Regions from separate parts of the Homo sapiens genome. Here region 2 is linked to region 1. The links are contacts of gene promoters, found by promoter capture Hi-C in human tissues and cell types (Jung and others, 2019). All regions are on one chromosome and are shown on one strand. Each heading gives the region's core, a stretch centred on a gene start or on the middle of the fragment in contact. The rest is flanking DNA. Distances are from core to core; before and after follow the strand shown. Region 1 holds the start of SLC46A3 (solute carrier family 46 member 3). Region 2 has its middle 57 kb from the start of GPR12.

Region 1 (4,970 bases), core at 2,373-4,872:
AGGCTGGAGGTGGGCCAACACTTGCCCCCTGTATGGTTGCAGAAGCCACCAAGCTGGCTGGACCAAGGCCCGTCTTCCCTCAGTCCAAGAGGGCAAGAGCAGCAGACTTTCCCAGACATTCTTGTCCTCTCCTCCCTGGTCCCTCCCACTGCAACCAGGGGGCCTGCTCCTACAGGTCAGCCAAAAGAAAGCACAGAATCAAATACAGAAATTGATGAGCCTGTAAGAAGAAATTTGTTAAAGGATACAAAATTACAGCTAGACAGGAGGAATAAGTTCTGGTGTTCTGTAGCACCACAGGGTGACTACAGTTAACAGTAATATGTTATATAGTTTCAAATAGCAAGAAGGAGGGTATTGAATGTTCCCAACACAAAGAAATGAGAGATGTCTGAGTTGATGGATATGCTAATTAGCCTGATCTGATCACTATACATTGTATGTATCAAAACACCACTGTATACTCCATGAATATGTACAATGATTATCTGTCAATTAAAAAAATAAAATAAGACCGGGCACGGTGGCTCACGCCTGTAATCCCAACACTTTGAGAGGACCAGACAGGAGGCTCACTTGAGGCCACGAGTTCAAGGCCAGCCTGGGAAACAGAGGAAGACCCTGTCTCTACAAAAAAAAAAAAAAAAAATCAAAAATTAGCTGAGTGTAGTGGCACGTGCCTGTAGTCCCAGCTACTCAGGAGGCTGAGGTGAGAGGATCCCTTGAGCCTAGGAGTTCAAAGTTGCAGCGAGCTATTACCACGCCACTCCACTCCAGCGTGGGCAGCAGAATGAGACCCTGTCTCAAAAAGTACCATACATGCATAAATACATAATAAACAAAATAAAATAAAAAACACTTCAGGTGATTCCCATGTCCAGTCAAGGTTAAAAAACACTGTGTTAGAGGTTCCAGGATGGGATTCAAGTATGTATATTAACAAACGTCTCCAGAGCCGAAATCTGAAGAGCATCCCTGCTGTAGGACCCCAACTTTGAAACTAAGAGGATTTGTTAAACTCTATTCTGTTTATGTGTGTTTTTCTCAACCTAGAGAGACTCTGGGCTTCTCGGGTTCAGAGCCGTTTTGCTTATCCTTGTCACCACAGGATAATGTGTGATAAACATTTGTTTAATGCATGAATAAACACTTACAAAAAGAAACTGTGAGCCGATCGAAGCTTCTCACTCCCGGGAATGACCTAGGAGACATTCTTGAAGGGAGATAAGACCGCTGGGTGAGACTCAGGGCCCTTTTTTTTTATGACCTTACTCTACGCCAGAACCTTGATGTCTTCCAGGCTGCTCAGAAATAATCACTCCCAAGAAAACGTTTCCCATGGGAATGAGGAAATGAGTAAGATTAGGGATTGTGCCAAATTGCCTAACCTCACCCCAGCAAGGTTCCACCTGACACCTCGGGAAGTGCTAGAACCTTGCCTCTGGGGCGGTTTGCCATTTCCTCCTTCTCAGGCTCTTCTCCCAGTCACAGAGACTCACAGAGCCAGCAGGAGGTGACTCAATTCCTTTTAATTCATTTCATCTTTCACTGGGAAGGCAGCACCACTCCTTTACAATCACAAAATATCCCCCAGAAGAAGAGTTTAGAGTTTACAGGTGTGATTTGTTTTTGAGGCATTGTAGGAAAAAAAAAAAAATTTCCAAACCTGGATACTATCTCTTTGCATTTTGAAATGGTAGACTTTTGTCAAAAACTGCCCAAGGGACCAGGAGAATGGTGAAGTGCCTGCCTCCTGTTTTACACACAAAAAAACTGGGGAGATTGCTGGAGAGGGAGGAAGAAAGCCTCCTTAATATCTGGCTAAACATCTTTGGTGTCAACGGTGGGTACTCCCCACTCCAGATGTCCCCACACAGCTGCTCCTCAACACGTGAGAGCCAAGGCTGATTTGATACCACCACCAAATAATAAATGCTCCTCCACCCCACCCTGTGACAGACACTGGCTCACAATCTTCAGTGATGGGCCACTTTCTAGAGTCCCTGAAAGCTGGGACATGCAGAAACAGTAAAAGGATTGGGGAAGAATAGAGCAAGTGAGAGACAGAAACACCATGTTTCAGCCACCCCTGTCCACCAAGTAGCTCATTCCAGCCTGCCCTGCCCCAATTTTCAGACTTTTTTTTTTTTTTTTTTTTTTTTTAGGACAAAGCAAGGAGACAGCCACAGAAGAGATGACACTGTGGTGAAATTTTCCGAGAGAAAGGAGAAGAGCTAGTGTCACAGAGCAGGAGGGTGTTTTAAGAAGAAGAGGCAGATTTGAAAGGTGTCAGGAAACTTCAAATGAGGTGAGTTCCCAGTAAAGGCCATTAGGTTTGGGATTTAGGACTTTGATGGCCGCCCTAGAGAGACCAATGGATGATGAGTTCACGGTCCTCTTTAACTCAAAGCCCGGTATACATTCCCATTTTATTAAATACTATGGATATTGTAATTTCTTACCTCCTGGAATGCAAAAATTGGGCTGCTTTTGTTTTTTTCACACTCAGAAATATTGCTATCAGATGAAAAAGTGTAGTTGCCAGTTTCTTCCCATATTCTCCGATAAACATATTGCGTTGTCAGTGGACCGGTCAAAGTCATAGCAAATGCACTAAGGAAAATGGCAGGTTCTACAAATAAAATCTTCATATTGCCTGGGTAGGTAGCTGTATTCTATAAAAAGTGAAAACGGAGAAAGATCATCTGTCTCATCCCAGAGGCTAGATATTCAAAGATGGGTAAGTTTGAGCAATTTTGTGGAGTAAATGTTTAAACAAGCAAACTAGAGAACAGAAAAGGCAGTAAGCACTTTCTCAGAGAATAACTTTTACTTTGGAGTAGAGTACTCTGTAACAACCTGAGGCTGCCATGCTTTCCATTTTTATGAGTAGGACATTGTAGGACTCAAGCCGCCTTTGAGTCTTTGAAATCATAAACTGTCACCCATCTTGGTTAGCCAATGATCACAGTACAGTTCCCACACTGTATATTGCCAACTGATTTTTCGTAAGTTCAACAATGAGGTTCCTTTTGGGAAGCGACAGTTGCACAATTGTTATTGTTATTTTGCTGCGTATTAAAAACGGACAGGGAGGGGGCGTTTTAAAAAGCAGCTCCCAATCGAAAGGGCCTTATTTTTAACTCACCCCACGATTACAGTCTTCCTGCCAGGCTGGGTACAGGTCGGGCCGTGCCAGGGGCTGTCGCCTCGGATGCCCTGCGCTCGTGCGCGCCCGGGTTCAAGGGCAGCCTCTGGACTGGGGCAACAGAGGACGCGCCGGGGACAGTAACCTCGGACTACGCGGCCGGCGCTGGGGTGGGGAGAGTACTTTCCCGTCGAACTCGACCAAATTACGCTTGTCGGGGAGTCTCAAGCGTATTGTAAAGCAAACCTCGGCAAGCGCACTTCCGCGTCCCGAGTGACACCTGCAGGGTTCTCCGGCAGCCCTCGGCTTCCCCGCGGCCCTGCGGACCTCGGCCTCAGCGCGGCGCGGCGGGGCGCGGAGCAGCTGCTCCTTCTGCGCAGTGGACAATCGGCCAATCGGCGCCTCCGTCGGTCGGTCAGCGGCCCTGCCAGCGCTAGGCGATGACTCGGCCGCAGCCAGCTGAGCATCGCTGTCCGCCGAGGAGGCGGGGTCGGCTGCCGCGGCGCTGTCACTGTTCTACCCGGCTCTCCTGCGATTGGGCCCAGCGGTCGGTGCCCCAGCGGCGATTGGTCCACCCGGACGTCACTCTCCCCTGGAGAGTGGCTAGTGGATCGTGCACCCACCCTCGGAGGCCCGGAGTGGATCCCGCGCGACCGAGCAGCCACTCAGCACCGCTGTTGAGTGGTGGGCCGCGCCGCAGGCTCAACAGCTCTGGAGTTGCAAAGCATTTCTGAATCCGAATATCCTTTCTCATAGAAACACATAAAACAACAGTTGGAAAAGTAACATGTTTGGGCTGTAGCCCCCAGCAGGATCCCGGTCGGCCCGCAGAAGAGGGGAATGGGCGCAGGTGGAGGGCATAGGAAAGAGAGTGCTCAATGCAGAGTTAGCGGAGGGTTGGAATGTGGTCGCTGGCTTTTCCTGGGGAGGGGAGGGGGGACTTGGGCAAATCGTTAAATTTTCATGAACCTCCATGTCTTTATCTGCCACGTGGGGATGATAAGTCTTACAGGGTTGTCTAATTAAACACTCAGCATGTATACACAACACAGCCCCTGGACATAGGAGGAGTTGTCAGTGCTCTCCAACACACCCACCAGGAACAACTTGTAGTAAAAGAATTGAGCTACTACTTCTTGAAGCCAGGAGAAATGCATGCATGAGGAACCGTGGGGGCATCTCAGTAAGAAGGTGTTAGAATTTACTATGGGCTTGCGTTATGTGATTTTGGGAAGAGTTCAAGAAAGCAAGGCCTTACTCTGGATTGGTTGCTGTCAGGAAATGGCAGTAATTCTATGATTGGGTATCTTAATAAGTCTTATTTAGGAGTCAAGACTAGACAGAGGCTAAAGCCATGAATGATAAAGAAGCAACAGTCACACATATTTGTCATTTTTGTGGTTTAGACAGTGCCTAAATTTTGTCCGTGTTCAGACAAAATTATGACGTGGTCTTGTTTTTGTCTTGATCATGGTTACAGAATGCTCTTGTCTGACTTTGGTGTTCCGTGAAATTGTTTTCATTCGACAGAACACCATGGTCCAGAAAAGTTCTTAGCAACACCAAGGCCCAGCTGATAGTTCCAGCACCTGGATGTCAGAGCTGCTTTCTCTTCCTCAGCACTCCTTAAATGACAGTTGTGTCACTGAATGCAGAGTTAAACGTCTTAGGTTTGAGTCCTAACTGATACTTAGTAGCTGGTAACCTTGGACTTGCCACTTAATCTTACTTCCCAGCTTCTTCAAATCAGCATTTATGAAGCACTTGTTATGAGTTTCAAACAATGGAGCATGGATATTGGAAAGAAGATAAACAAACATGA
Region 2 (5,414 bases), core at 1,553-4,052, 1.9 Mb before region 1:
GGGTTTTGTGTTCTCTTCCTGGAGATGATGTGGAGGTGTTGTGGTGAAGGGTCAGATGCATCCTTTCCTCTGTCCACTTGCTGGGCAGGGCACACGGGGTTCCTTCAGCACCATCCAAGTGGAACCCTGCAGATGGGGGTGTCCGGAGCACTCACAGAATGAAAGTCAGCATTGAGTCTGGCTCTGGTGCTTTCTTATCTAACTAATAATTCTCCACTTTCAAAAAACAATCTGCTAACAAGTCAGGTACATCTTTACCAGCTACTCCTCTTTCTTAGCCTCCTAATAATGCCCATCAGAAGATGACCACTAGGTCATGGCCTTTGGTCTTTCATCAAGAATTCATGAGCACTGGTTCGTGTCTTGCACTCCCACTGGGAGCAAGGTCTTGAGGCTTTCTCAGAGAGGGCACTGCAGGGCTGCAGGGGCACAGATTTACAACTGTGGTTGTTGATTAAACAACAATAACAGCAGCACAGAGCTGGAAGAGAATGAGACACTCTATTTTCTGAATGCTTGCAGCATGTCTGTCTTTCTTGGCTGCAGCATTCGTCATCACAGGCCTAGGGAAGAGCACGTCAATCCTGGTGAACTTATCGTGCAGCAAAGTGTCCCAGGAGAAAGGGTCTTCCTGCATCTCCTCTCAGCTCCTGCCTGTCGAGGGCTGTGCAGTCTAATCGGGGTCAGAAAAGGAAGGGAAGGTGTGGATGCCAGGTGGATCCATAAACACAGTCACAAGCTGTAGGCTTCTACTGGGGTCAGTCATTTTTCTCTGAGTTTAATAATGGATCCCCATTATTAAAGCCAGTGGACTCCAAGTGGTGGAGCACAGGAAGGGGGGTCCCTAGATGCTCCCTGAGGAGCCACACCCCAACCCCCTGCTCACCCTAAGTTACCTCTGAGGGGAATGGTCACTCGGGTATCAAACACAGAAGTAGCAACTGGACAACAGCTCTGTTATATTTCTGTCAGTGGGACAACAGCTCTGTTATATTTCTATGTCAGTGCTGCTGGGACAGGACACCATCTGGGTGTGGCAGCCTGGCCAGGTGAGCTGATCACTCAGAGTAGCCAGAGGCAGAAGGGCTGGGACGAAAGTGAGGGTGGCCAGCAAGATGGGCGCGAAGTGCAAGGCCCGGTCAGCAAGCTGTGCTAGCTGGCTGGGGCTGCCGCAACAAAATGCCACAAATGGAGCAGCTGAAACAACAGAAATGTCCTGTCTCACTGTTCTGGCAGCCAAGTCCACGATCAAGGTGTCCACAGGGTTATGCAACCTCTGAGGGCACTGGCGAAGGACCTGTTCCAGGCTTCTCTCCTGGCTTTCAGGAATTCCTTGGTTTGTGGCAGCAGAACCCCAATCTTTATGCAGCGCTCTGTGTGTCTGTTCTTCACCTGGTGTTCTTTTCACAAGGACACAGTCATTCTGGATTGGGGACCACCCTATTCCAGTGTGACATCATCTTGACTAATTACATATAACGACCCTACTTTCAAATAAGGTCCCGTGCTGAGGCACTGGGGTTAGGACTTCATCACATGAAGTTGCAGTGGAGCACAATTCAACCCTTAACAAAGTCCATTTTTTGGGAGGCTAATTGGGGGATCGGTCAAAAGGTGGGAGACCCAATAGAAAATCGCAGGTCGGTGAGCGACATGGGTCAGGGTAAACGGTTCAGGAGAAAGGTGAACTAACTTTTCAGGGGGTCTTGGGGCTGCTTCTCCATGATGCTGGCTGCAGGGCACAGTGAGATTTTTTAAAGGCAGTGAAGGATCAAATGCAGTCTTGCTGTAGGCCTGGGCTGCTGCACTGGGTGATCGTGAAGAATTCCTTCAGTTCAGTGTCATCTGACACGCATTCCGGAGCCCGAGCCATGTGCCACAAGCTGGGTACACAGTGGTGGATAAAAACATCCATTGCTGCCCCCAAGGAGCTCACAGTTTTATGATTAAATGGCAACATTTTTATAGTGTCCAAAAACAGTTCCAGTATTTTTTTAACCACATTTTTCTTGAGCTAGACAGAAAGTTAAAATGCAGTGAAACAATCAACCACATGTTAAAATTGCAGAACAAAATTGGTGCCGTGTCAGCTTTCCGCTGGTTTCAAAACAAGCAGTAATGAGCTAATAGGAAAAAAAAATAGTGAGGGCTGGGGGGGTGACATAGAGACGGTTCATGGTATCTCTCTCAGCATATTGTTTTACATTTAAAGAAATGTCTTCATTATTAGGTCTGCTGATGCCACGTTGTAGCAATGTTTATGTCTTGCTTGAGAATCAAGACAGCACCTCTCTGCTCAAGGTTACCTAAATTTATAATCATTCACTGGCAGGCAATGATATAATATAGTCTCTTAATAATAGAGTTAAATGTAATACCTGGCCATGTGTTGGGAAAAGCATGGATTTTCAAGTTAGACACATCTGTCTCCTGTCTAACGTCACTCTGTAACTGTGTGAACTTATTCAGGAAGTTGAGCCTTCTGTTTCTAGTTGGTAAAATGGGAATGATAAAGATTTTCTACAATTATTGGGAGGATTCGACAAGAAAACACATTCAAGAGCCTAGCCCAATCCTGGAGCATAGCAAGCACTTTTAAAAAAAAGTGTCTTGGGCTTACACAAACAAATGCATCTGTTCCTGTCGTGACTTTGCAGATTGGGGAGGCAGGGCTGGGGCTCAGGGCAAGAAACTGCCAAAGAGGAGGCAAACTCAGGGAACCAGAGGCGTAAGAACCCTCCAGGTGAGCAGCTCAGTGCCAGGGAATATCAGAACCACAATCAGGGCAAGGCTGAGAAACCAGGGAGGCTGTGATGGGCAGATGTGTCTACTTCCCAAATACCTTTGAATCTAACCACTTCTCTCAACCCCACAACCATTGTCTGACATTAGGACATCTGGGCTCCTTTAAGGGCCACCTAATTTATCTCCCCACCTCCCCTAACTTTCCCCTATCCACTTCCCTTTCTGCAGCAAGAAAGATGCTTAAAGATGCAATCCAATCTAGTCCTCCTGGGCTTAAAGACAGGATATCCAGCGCACCTGTCCTACACTAGTACAGGGGCTGGATTCCACCTGTTGATGTTAATGACGCTACATTGTTGACCTGCCAATTGAATAGAGAAGACATAGAAATGATTTTTAAAATATACTGTCAGCTGGGTGCAGTAGCTCATGCCTGTAATTCCAGCACTTTGGGAGGCTGAGGCTGGTAGATTGCTTGAGCCCAGGAGTTCAAGACCAGCCTGGGCAACATGGTGAAAACCCATGTCTACAAAAAATACAAAAATTAGCCAGGCATAGTGGCACACATCTGTGGTCCCAGCTACTCAAGAGCCTGAGGCGGGAGGATCACCTGAGCCTGGGAGGTGGAGGCTGCAATGAGCCATGATGGTACCACTCCAGCCTGGGCAACAGAGTGAGTTTTATTCTCTCTTTCTCTCTCTCTCTCTCCTCTCTCACTCTCTCTCTCTCTCTCTCTCTCTCTCTCTATATATATATATATATATATATATATATATACACACACACACAAACACACACACATACATATACATATATATATCACTGAGTTGAAAAGATTAAGACTTTTTTAACTTAGTTTATTTGGACTCAGTGTTTTGTTTGTAGCTTTTAAATGCTAATTTAAGCTTTATAAATCTGCTTTGAGATTTGTCCTGAATTTCAACACAATTCAACTTTCAGTCTGCAGATGAATTTGTCCACTGCCAAATATGCTGAGGTCTGAGCAAGGGCCTATCGTCTGGACCGAGAGGCATCCCTCACTAAGGCAGGAATATTTCAATAGGGATAAATGTGACAGGGTCCTCTGTCTGTCAATGAGTCCTGGAAATTGGATGCTGAGCCTAGAGACAGCTTGCAATTTGAGGGTTACTCTGCTGCCATTTGGAAGGTGTCAATAGGGAGTTGGGACTCTTCCTGTTCCAACAGACACATACTTCTTAACTTGTGAATCCATAAATAGCCTCCTGTCTGCTGAGCCCCAGTGTGCTGTGACAATGCAGGAGCGAGACAGCATGCAGAAGCTCCCTCTGTGTACTAAGCGCTTGCAACACCATCTGCTTTCGTCTGTATTTAGGGGCTAGTTTGTTAGCTCAGAGTGCTAAGAAGTTAAGGTTGCAGGGGCCTGATGCTGCCCAGGCCTTGTTCAATCAAAAGAAAACCTAATATTGAAACAGAAAAAAGAGGAGCCACAACTGAAGAATTTTGCATCTGTCGCCTGCTTCATTCTCCACCCAAGCTCAAAGTTCTCTCCTGTAGGGAATCCAGCCATATATTCCTGTGACTGTGGGTCTGCTCTGTTTGGGGCCTACTTCAGGAAACTGCAAATACCTTTGCTTACGGCTGGCTGATTACAGCTCCCTTAGCTTAGAAACACATGTGTGGTGTGTGGGTCCTGTGGACTGAATATATGTGTCCCCCCCAGATTCATATATTGAAGCATTAATCCCTATGATGGCATTAGGAGGTGGGGCCTTTGGAGGTAATGAGGTCAGGAGGATGGAGCTCTTATGATGGAATTAGTGACCCTGTAAGAAGAAACACAAGAGAGACGTTCTCTTCACCATATGAGGACACAAAAAGAAGGTGCCGTCTGCAAACCAGGAATCGAGCCCTCAGGAGACATTTGATCTACTGGTACCTTAGTCTTGAACTTTCCAGCCTCCAGAACTGTGAGAAATACATTTTTATTGTTTACAAACCACCCATTCTGTAGTATCTTGTTATAGCAGCCTGTCTTAGTCCATTTCATGCTGCTATAACAGAATGTCTGACACTGGATGATTTGTAAAGAACAGAGATTGCTTTCTTACGGTTCTAGAGGCTGGGGAGTCCAAGTTTGAGAGGCTGCACCTGGTGAGGGGCTTCTTGCTGTGGTATCCCATAGTGGAAAGCAGAAGGGCAAGAGAGCATGAGACAGACAGAGAGAGAGAGAGAGAGAGAGAGAATGCATGAGAGGGAGCCGAACTTGCTTTCCTAACAAACTTACTCATTACTATCCAAACTATCTTACAAGACAGTGTTGTTAATTTACTCAGGAGGGCAAAGCCTGCATGACCTCATCACCTCTTAAAAGTCCCACCTCTCAACGCTGTTGCTGACAAGGGATTAAGTTTCCAACATATAAAGTTTGGGGACATATTTGTCCCGCAGCACAGCCCAAATGGACTAAGACAGTGGGTGCGTGGGGTGTTTAGGATGGAAAATGGAAAATGTATTTGAGCGAGAAAGTTTCTGCCTCTGGTTTGTTACTCTAGGACACTAAGAAGCTACAGCTACCCAGGGGAATTGGCCCAGATCATGTAAATGTTGTGTATCCTGTTCCCACTTTTGCTTTTCATTCAAAACGTGGCCTGTGGAAGAGCAGCTTTGTGTAAGAAATTTGGGGAGCC

What was found. The method cuts DNA at HindIII sites, captures the fragments that hold promoters and counts their contacts. A contact is called where the count stands out against the background at its distance.
Region 2: a fragment that was not itself captured here is called in contact with the fragment with the promoter of SLC46A3 in region 1 in 1 of the 25 tissues and cell types used here (stomach).

The regions. Positions count from the first base shown.
Region 1 is chr13:28,715,348-28,720,317 of GRCh38, forward strand. It overlaps SLC46A3 (solute carrier family 46 member 3), which reads right to left and starts at 3,623. Exons shown (of 6, transcript NM_181785.4): 1 at 3,149-3,623; 2 at 2,463-2,675. The coding sequence starts at 2,651. The HindIII fragment of the contact is 18,064 bases long and covers 1-4,970 here.
Region 2 is chr13:26,815,253-26,820,666 of GRCh38, forward strand. No RefSeq gene overlaps it. Among named protein-coding and RNA genes, the nearest start is that of GPR12, 57 kb to the left of the region's middle. The HindIII fragment of the contact is 7,529 bases long and covers 1-5,414 here.